Linked DNA regions of Homo sapiens: region 2 is linked to region 1. The links are contacts of gene promoters, found by promoter capture Hi-C in blood cells and fetal thymus (Javierre and others, 2016). All regions are on one chromosome and are shown on one strand. The core of a region is centred on a gene start or on the middle of the fragment in contact, and the rest is flanking DNA. Distances in the headings are between cores, read along the strand shown.

Region 1 (5,108 bases), core at 1,404-3,903:
TATCTCTCTCATAGTAGTGCTGTAAAGTCAACACTGTTATCCTCATTCTACAATTTGAGACATAAGGTTTTCTGAGGTTAAAGAAGTTGCCCTAGTAAGTATCAAGTCTTTGGACTAACACATGCTTCTTCAAACCAAACTGTAATTAAGGCAGTGTCATTCACTATGATAGTGAGTAGTTATCCTCATTTTATGGAGGAGGACCTTAAGATACAGACACATTCAGTGGGTCATGGAAGGTCATAAAACTAGGAAGCAGAAGAGCTCACCTACAGCCCACATAGCCCAAATAGCTGCCTGGTTCCAGCTCAGGCTACTAATAACACCTCAGGCATGTTGCTTTCCTTCCTTATACCTGTTTCCTCACTGCAAAGGAGGCTTCATACTGAATGTAATATATCATTTTAAGAAATGACTCCGGAGTATGAAACATAGAAATACACACAATGAAAATCTTCAAGAAAGTAAGATGCAACTTTATAATCTACTAACATGTCAGAATTTACCCACTGGGGACTACACTTACATTTGCAAAAAGACACATATGAAAACACTGCTAAGAACCAAGCAAAGAGGCAGGAGATGAGAAGAAGAAATATTCTTCCAAAGCAGCACTAAATGACAATAAGGTTTTTACTCATTCTTTTTTTTTGTTTTTCTCTTTTGTTAAGCTACACACTATTTTCTCTACTTCTGAGGCACTGGGCCACTAGAAATATCAGGTCACCAAAATATTATCTGGCTTAAGAATATAAACATCAAACCAGAATTTCTGCTAAGTGTTGTCAACAGTTTCATTAGGGTGAATGGACTGGTCTTAGGGATTGCATCCAAAACAAACAAACAAGCAAAGTATCAAACTGCTTGGCCTTGGCAATAAAGCTGAGGATATTTCTTATTATCTCATTCCCAGTATCATCCAATCACACTATTATCCCCCCCCAGTCTTTAGTTTCATTTAGGACTAGCAAATGTCACTGCAAACATGTATATTACCCAAAAAGTACATAGGAAAAATCATATCAGCTTCAACTAGTCTACCTTCTCCCCACATCTTTTGCCAAAATATCAAAGCACTAAACAGATACAGACCCATGAATCCTCATTATCAGCATGTGAAGAAAAAAAGTGGGTAAGGATTAGAGGCAGCACGGCACAGTTTTATAGATTACTGGATTTAGTTCACTGGACTCAGAGACACGAGACCCCTTTGCTAGGTATAGAGAACATAATTCCTACATTCACATGTGAAAATACAAACCGTATGACCCCTCGTCTTCCCAAACCTGAATTCTGATTAATAATTTTTTTTGGATTGTGAACTAGAAATAAAAATGTAAAGGGACCAACTTAAAAGTCTCAATAAAATCAAGGGAAACTGCCACCAAAACCAGGATTCCTGGATCCCGGGCACATAAATGTATTCATTTGTGATCAACATTATGACTACAAGATTAAATATAAAAAATGGAGACAACAAACAGTTTGGGCAGCACCAGGTATCAAAATTTTCCAAATTAAACTGGAAGACAGTGAGAAGCTGATCCACAGATGCCCCCAGAGTAGCTAAGCCATGGTCATCTTAAAAGGTAGCATGTGGGCATACATGGGGTTGGGTAGGCGCACAGACCTACCGAAGGGAGTTAGAATGGGACATTGAGGTGGACTTAGCATTGGGCCGAGAGTTGGAGAAAGTCAATATCCCTAAGCACGAAACTCTTATCATGCAGAAAGGATGGGACATAGGAAGGGGGACGGGAGAAGGGGGTGGTTCAGGGAAGACTGTGCCAAAGACACGGTAATAATCAAGAGAACAGGGAGTAGACGCCCAAGGGTCCTCGTTCTATATAGAACCTTGATGAAAATGATGTTTCAAAGAGAAATCAAATACACTGGGGGAAGGGGGTGGATCCAGTGGTGCGCCGGGAATGAACTGACCCAAGTGAGCTGGGACATGTGCATACAGAGAGCAGAGGCAGAAGTCAAGGAACTGGAGGCTGAGGAACCCAGCGGACCACGAAAGCAGGGAGATAACTAGACAGCATGCTCGGCTGGAAGGACCAAAGTCAGAGAAGGAAAAATGAATAAGAAAATGAGCAGTCAGAGGCAGCTAGGGTGACGGACAGACAGCATGAAGCGCAGCAGAATGAATAGCCAGAAGACTCGGACAGGCAGAGCCGAAGGACCGCAGAGCTCAGCGCCGGAGGTAGGCAGGGAAAGCAACTGGGGGAGGTACCTGGGGCGTTACACAGATGGAGGTGGCTGAGGATACATCCCCGCGCAGCCAAGCCCCCAGAGGTCCTGCCCCTCCCCGGCCCTCGGTCGCCCGGTTACCTTCTCGCCTGGCTGTGCACCCAAGTCTTCCCCGGGGGCGTCCACCTCATGTGCCGGGGTCCCCAGTCGCCAGGCTGGGCTGGGGGCTCGCTCGGCCTCCGCGGCGGGCTCCCCTCGCCTCCTCCCCTTCCTGGAGGGGCGGGGGCGCCGAGGGCGGGGTGGGAGGCGCCCGGCGCGACCGCGGCTCCCCGCCCCTCCCGCCGCTCCGGGTGCGGGCCCGGCCGCGGCTCAGCCAGGCCTCCGGGGCTCGCTCCGGGCCTGTCACTTCCTGCCCGGCCGAGAAGGTGGGGGCCGCAGGCCAGGGGCTGCGGGCCGGGCTGGAGGAGGGGGCTGCGGGGAGGTGCTTCCGGGGCAGCCGGACCCCCCCCCCGCCGTCCCTCCGCCTCCCCTCGGCGCCCTCCGCCCCCTCCCTCCCGCGCGTCCCTCGTTTCCTGCCGGCGCCCGTTGCCATGGCGACGCAGCTCCCGGGCCTCTGCGCTCCAGGCCCAGGGGTTTTTTCCTCTCTTGCTCTCTTTCTCCTCTTTTTTACCCCCTTCTTTCTCTCCGAGTTCTGCTCGCCGGTTGGAAGGACGAAACTAAGAAAGTGCTGGCCTCTAGTGGGGAACGCACCTCTCGGAGAGGAGAGGGAGATGGGAGAAGGGAGGGAAGTGACGTGAGACGGGGAGAAAGAAGGTATTTTCTGGAGCTGCTGGGAATAAGGGGTAGAAAGAAAGGATCAAAGGGACCAACAGACAGAGAGGGAGAAAGAGCAAAGCAACGACCCCTAGAGAAACGATAGACTGGGAAAAGAAATGAAGCAAAGGAAAGGAAGGAAAAGGCGAGAAAAACTTTGAGAATGAGAGAAAGGAGAGAGAAGGTTGATTGTTTAATCCCTCACCTCAACTCCAAGAAGGCGGGAAAGAATGCTGCAGAAACAGCTAACCCATTAGGAGTTGACTTCATTTTCAAAGCAGCAACCTAATGTAACTTCCTTTGGATAGCATTTAAGTTTGTCATTTCAGGGATTTGTGTGTGCTTCGATTTCAATATGTATATGAGTTCGAATGACAAAAACGGGAAAAGGCCAGAGTATAACGAGATGTAGAACAATGGGGCTGTCTCTGGGAACACTAAACATTTGATAGGGGAGCCGTTGTCGTTGTATTTATGATATCAACTTACCGGTTTTTAATTACTCTCTCATCGTTCAACATTCAATAAATATTTATAGAGCGTCTACTATGTGCTAAACCGTGGAAGCTTGGATTGCATCAGTGCACGAAACAAAGATAACTGCCTTACTGCCTTCATTAACCTTTACAGAAGGGTCTGGGGGATGCCTCGTGGATTAACAACTGGGATTGATGCCTTTTCTCTTGCTCTCAGTCTTTTCCTAACCTCTATCCTAAACAGTTATTTTCTCTGTCAATCCACTCTTCCTTTTCTCCTTTAAAAGCCCATGCATGGTTTGTTTATAGAGAAAAAAACAGAAGTGTTATCTTTGCTTATAAATTATATCCATTTAGATTTTGCTTTGAGAGAGGAGTATTTGGACTCCAAGGTCTTTCATTTGTGGCAGCCAGATTAAAATCGGAGAACAATTTCTGCCAGGCTTCTAGGAACTAGTCAGACAGGTATGTGAGGGAAGAAACCGGAGGGCAGCCAAAGGACTGGAAAAGCGAAGACACGGGGTATGAGGAGGTGAAAGGGTGTGTTACCAGGCCGTGGATGACAGGCACTGGCTGAGGATGATTTGAAAAGATTCTGACTGGTAGAACTAGTGGTGAAAACGAGGTAAAGCATTCGTTGTTTAATTCACACCTGGATTTTTGGCATGTCAAAGCAGTTAAAGCTTTCTTGCAGAAGTTTAGAAATGGATATCGATTGAGCCTAGGCGGAATTTTCTAGCACCAATGGAAAAAAAAAGCATCTATAGATAATTTTCAGATTATACAACATTAAAGTTAAGAAACATGACTCATGTGCTTCCTTAGTTTCCCTGGGAGAATTATCACTGTTAAGTGTCTAAAGAAGATTTGTAAGCTATAACAAGAATAAGGAATGCAGATATCAGAGGGTATGGACTTGTTTTTCTATAGCCTATGGAACTTGTGTACCAAGAGGGTACATGACCATATCGCATTTCACCCTCCTTACAAATGGAGCAGAATTACCGCTACTGCATATAGTTACATTCCACCCCTAAAGATTTTTTTTTTTTATTTACTAGGTCACCGGCTCCTATAGCTACTAGATAATGTTAGGGGATAAGCGATGAATACTTTTGTTGAGTGCCTGTTATAAATTTAGCCTGAGAATAATCTATCATGAGGCGAGCTATACTGATTATGGGCCAGTAGTTTAATTTTTATATGTAAAGGTGTGTGCTCCATATATCACAGGATTCTTTTCAAGTTCATTTTTCTCCAAGTCAGGCCAGTGTTCTAAGGTCATAGGTCTAAACAGTTCCCACCAAAAAAGATTTAGTATAAAAAAGAAATATATCAACAGCAAAGTAAAGTTATAGGAAAGCCTCCATCCATAAGAAAATCATTTTCATAGACTAAATCAGCTTGAGAGCAGGCATTGAAGAACTTATCTCGGTCTAAACAGCAAAACAATCTGTGTTCCCTAGAGAATACTCAACTTTTTTTTCTTAATTTTTCTAAAGTTTCTCATTTTCATTTAATGACTCTGCTTGAATTAGACTTTTCTTTTTCAAACAAAATGGTTCTTCTGAATGGAGGCTACAGAATGTCTTTACTCTGCATAACACTGAAGGCCATTAGCCTAAA
Region 2 (5,108 bases), core at 1,502-4,001, 200 kb after region 1:
TTCAGAAATATGATTTCTCCATTTTTCCTTGGGGAAACTGGCACTGCAACTTAATAACTGTAGCTCGTCACTTAGCAGAAAGTTTAAATACCCTTCCCAATATTATATATTGTCTAGGAATATACTTTAATCTGATCACTGACTTTTTGTTTTATCTCCTCCCTCAACATTCTGTTCTTGATATGAAATGAAATGCCAATCAATATATTTCCATCTTTCCCATCACTAGAAACCCCGCTTAAGTATATTTTTGTATCTGTGGTTAATTTTACATTCAATTTTCTTCCCTGGTTTTGTTATAGGTATGTAGAAAAAAAAAATAGGTAGTAGCACTTATCTTACTAGGTAAGCTTCAATGATGAAGTCATTTACACAGTAGCTTTAGTGAAAATAAATAATTGGAGAATGAGCAAAAGGGCTCTCAATAACCAAAATAAATGTCCAGGTCTATTCACTAAATTTCATTTATTCCAGTCAGAGGACAGCACGCTCTTACTCAATGTTTTTATTCTTCCTATAAATAGAATTTTTAAAAATAAATGCAGCTTGTTTACTAAAATGCAAAAAAGGACTTTTTTTCCAGATGGTGTTGCTTCTCTGAGTTTGTATCATGAACAATGCAACATTAAAAAATCACCTTCCTGAGAAGCAAAAAAGTTACAAGTTTCAGAACAAGCAACAAAACGATTTTTTTTAATGTTTACCAAAAAAACAAAATGTCAAGTATCATTCAAGTATTATTCCAGATAACATGGCACATCTAACACAAAAGGAAAGGTCCTGGGCAAAAACTACAGGAAGGAAAGGCTGTACAGACCAGCAGCTTCCTGAATAGTGGCAGCTGGACATGGTCCACCCTCCCAGGTACCAGCAAGAAGGGCCTGCTCCACAGTGCACACGGTTTGAAACCAGAGCATTGCTGGGCAGAGGCCCCATCAGAGCCAACAGCACACATTCCCAAGCACCTTGAAATGCCATGTCTGCCACACTTGACCACCTACCTCTCTCTTGACCCACCTACTACCCCACAATCCACTGCCTCAAAGGCCTAAGTCTCTGTTAAACAAGCAGGGTATCTAAACTGGATTATGGTAGTAACTCAGCTTACACACATGCTAGGAAGGAACTATGCTAACTTAATGTCGGATGCTCTAGGGTTAGCAGTTCTGAATATTTAATAACTTTTTATTTTTATTTATTTATTTATTTTGAGATAGAGTTTCACTCTTGTCACCCAGGCTGGAGGGCAATGGTGTGATCTAGGCTTGCTGGAACCTCCGCTTCCCGGGTTCAAGTGATTATCCTGCCTCAGCCTCCCAAGTAGCATGTGCCACCATACCTAGCTAATTTCTTCCAGAAGGCGGAAAGGTTGCAGTGAGCCGAGATCACGCTATTGCACTCCAGCCTGGGCAACAAGAGAGAAATTCCGTCTCACGCGCACAAAAAAGAAGATAAGGACCAGGCTCATTAAAATGAAAAATATATAAACACTATGGCTTCCCTACAGCAGGATATTCCATGCATATTACAGGCAGTAAACCTTATCCTCCCTCCTCCTTAAACAGAGTGTTTCTGATAAACTTTTTCTCCTATGAAACTTTTCTTGAAAAGAGATTTCCATTTTAACCACAGTATGGGAAAGGTACAGTGCAAACCTGCACTGTCAATTCAACCTGATGGAACGACTTTTTTTATGGGTTGCATTTCGGTCTCTTCCCTGCGGACAATCATAGGGAAGGCCACAGTGTGTCCCTGACCAGACGCTGTACCCAAAGACATACTATGCTCATTAGAAAAAAGTTATAGCCACACAGTGCCTTCCAGGCCACTTGGGAAGGTCTCAGAAAGCAAAGCTCCACAAAAGAAAAAGTCACGCCAGAATACCTGACGTAGAATATCCCCAGCTCCCCTTGATGAAGGAATTGTAAAAATGCCCTTAAAATGTTTGGGGGAGGGGGGAGGGATAGCATTGGGAGATATACCTAATGCTAGATGATGAGTTAGTGGGTGCAGCGCACCAGCATGTCACATGTATACATATGTAACTAACCTGCACATTGTGCACATGTACCCTAAAACTTATAATAATAAAAAAAAAAAGTTTGTAATCAGTAGTGATTAAAAGACTCTGTCACTGACTTCCAACACTCTGAAGCTATGTCCGTGCCTTGGCCTGACACTCGGCTCTTGAAACTCATCCGTTTGCAGATGATTTTTTTTTTCTTTCTGAGACATGGTTTCAGTCACCCAGGCTGGAGTGCAGTGGTGCAATCATAGCCCATTGCAGCCTCAAACTCCTCGGCCTAAGTGATCCACCTGTCTCCTCTGCCTCCCAAGTAGCTGAGATGACAGGAGCAAATCACATCAGGCTAATTTTTTTTTTTTCCTTGAGATGGAGTCTTGCTCTGCCACCCAGGCTGGAGTGCAGTGGCGCAACCTTGGCTCACTGCAACTTCTGTCTCCTGGGTTCAAGCAATTCTCCTGCCTCAGCCTCCTGAGTAGCTGGGATTACAGATGCCCACCACCATGCCCAGCTAATTTTCGTACTTTTCTCTTTTTAGTAGATATGGGGTTTTGCCATGTTGCCCAAAATGATGGAATTATAGGCGTGAGCCAACAGGCCCGGTCTCTAATTTTTTTTTTTTTTTTTTTTTTTTGGTAAAGATGTGGTCTCACTACGTTGCCCAGACTGATCTCAAACTCCTGGCCTCAACCAATCCTCCCACTTTGGCCTCCCAAAGTGCTGGGGTTATGGCTGTGAGCCACCATGCCTTGCCAATCAATGATTAATTTCATTGCACAGTGGGTCTTCACCTGAGTGTGGCAGTTGCTGCCCCAATAGCAGTCAGGATGGAATGTTATAGTCACTAGCAATTGGGAAGCAGAAATGTTCCGCTGCTGATACATCAGTAGTCAGAAATTACATGGGCTACAACAGTGTTCCCGATGATTCTGAAATCAGAAAATAATATTCCCCTCTGAAGAGCCACAAAGCCTTCAGTCAACATGTTTTTCTAGGCCAGGCATGATGGCTCCTGCCTGTAATCCCAGAACTTTGGAAGGCCAAGGTGGGCGGATCACTTGGTCAGGAGTTTGAGACCAGCCTGGCCAATATGGCAAAACCCTGTCTTTACTAAAAATACAAAAATGAGCCAGGTGTGGCAGTACATGCCTGTAATCCCAGCTACTCGGGAGGCTGAGGCAGGATAATCGCTTGAACCCAGGAGGCGGAGGTTGTAGTGAGTGGAGATCGTGCCACTGCTCTCCAGCCTGGGTGACAGAGCGAAACTCCATCAAAAAAAAAAAAAAAAAAAAGAAGGAAACAAACAAACAAACAAACAAAACTGGCGGGGAGCGGTAGTTCATTTTGGGAGGCTGAGGTGGGCAGATCACTTGAGGTCAGGAGTTCAAGACCAGCCTGGCTGACATGATTAAGACTCCATCTCTACTAAAAATACAAAAAAAAAAAATAGCCGGGTGTGTTGGTGCATGCTTGTAAACCCAGCTACTCAGGTGGCGGAGGCAGGAGAATCACTTGAATCTGGGAAGTCGAAACTGCAGTGACCCCAGATGATGCCACTGGACTCCAGCCTGGAAAACAGCAAGACTCCATCTCAAAACAAAACAAAACAAAAACCACATTTTTCTACATTAAATCTCTGATTACCAGGTACAGTAGTCCCTCCATATCCACAAGGGATAATTCCAAGACCCCCAGTGGATGCCTGAAACTGCAGATAGTACATATACTATGTTTTTTCCTAAACATACATATCTATGATAATTTGCATATTAGGCACAGTAAGATGTTAGCAATAAAATAGAACAATTATAACAATATACTATGATAAAAGTTATATGAATGCGGTGTCTCTCCCACTCTCAAAATATCCTGTTGTACTGTGTCAGGGCGTAACTGAAACCACAGAAAGTGAAACCAGGGAAAGTGAAACCTGTCCAGTGGTACACTGCCATTCCCACAGGAGGACATGCGGCTAGCCTTCCTCGGTGCCCAAGCGATGGGGCCTCCCCAAGGGCTGCTGCAGCAACAGCTGCTTGCCTTCTTAGGGGTGCTCCAACTGGATTCACATCTGAGATGCCAGAAGTGTTGGGTGAAGACTTCAATCCCAAAGGTAGAGGCTCCAGGCGTGCCTGCCTGCTTCTGCCCCTCAATGGTTCTCTCCTAGCCTTGGGCACAGCTGTTTCCTCTTAACAGAATTTCAAAACATCTACTTTTCTATTTTTCCCATCTGCTAACATAAAGAAAAAAGAAAAACAGGAAAAAACAGAAATGCTGACAAGTCAAAAGGATTCCAGTAAATCTAAATAGTACAGGAGCTCAAAAGTGCACCAATAAAATGACAGTCCTGCTAATGATCCAGAATCTTAAAATTCAGACAATATTCACTATTTTAAAAGACAGTAGAGTCCTCTATAAAATAAAATGGCAAACTTTTTTCCTAGTAGTTTAAAGGAGTAAACTTGGTTACCCAATAAGATAACTGTAAGAAAATATTCTCCAGTAGCGAAACATAAACGCAGCAATTGCAAATGTCCACATATAGTATAGATGAGTACCGTATAGTATTTCCTCTCTTAGAATGTAAGCTCAGGTCAACCAATCCCATCCTCTCTTTATTTCCTCCAGTGCATCAAGAAAAACAATGTATAAATATCAGATGCTGAATAAATACTACTGACAAAAGTACCTTTTTTGAAATAAAGAGAAATTCTACAAAGAGAGTTTATTTTTGAGAGTTTTCCCACACAAACTTCTGGATCAGCATACCAATAAAAAACAGCACTGCATCTTGGAATACTCAGGCAAAACTGAGTATATGGGAATCTTAAAGTGCTTCATTCATCTTCTGAAATAGGAAATAAGCAGACATTTGTTTCACTGCTTAAGATTTCCTAAATTTTTTCTAAGGTAATAGTTTAGAAAGTACCACTTTGTTTCTCCCAACTTTTAGTTCCCTTATTAGACCAACCCGAGGAATAATTTTTCTACTTTAAAAGTTTTTCAAGTCAACATCCTGGGATCTAAAACTTAGTGTTGTTTCTTACTGGATCAAATTTCCTTAATAAACAAAGGAAAAGTTCAATGT

What was found. Contacts are between HindIII fragments. The CHiCAGO score rates a contact against its expected background, and 5 or more counts as called.
Region 2: a fragment that was not itself captured here is called in contact with the fragment with the promoter of PHC1 in region 1 in 4 of 17 cell types (naive CD4 T cells, non-activated CD4 T cells, naive B cells and 1 more); the score reaches 5.4 in naive CD4 T cells.

What each region holds. Positions count from the first base shown.
Region 1 is chr12:8,912,054-8,917,161 of GRCh38, reverse strand. It overlaps PHC1 (polyhomeotic homolog 1), which reads right to left and starts at 2,653. Exons shown (of 15, transcript NM_004426.3): 1 at 2,335-2,653. RefSeq lists silencers at 2,202-2,491, 2,562-2,611, 2,662-2,771 and an enhancer at 4,968-5,108. The HindIII fragment of the contact is 8,234 bases long and covers 1-3,575 here.
Region 2 is chr12:8,708,515-8,713,622 of GRCh38, reverse strand. The region is part of intron 1 of RIMKLB (ribosomal modification protein rimK like family member B); the gene reads right to left. Among named protein-coding and RNA genes, the nearest start is that of RIMKLB, 13 kb to the right of the region's middle. The HindIII fragment of the contact is 4,798 bases long and covers 353-5,108 here.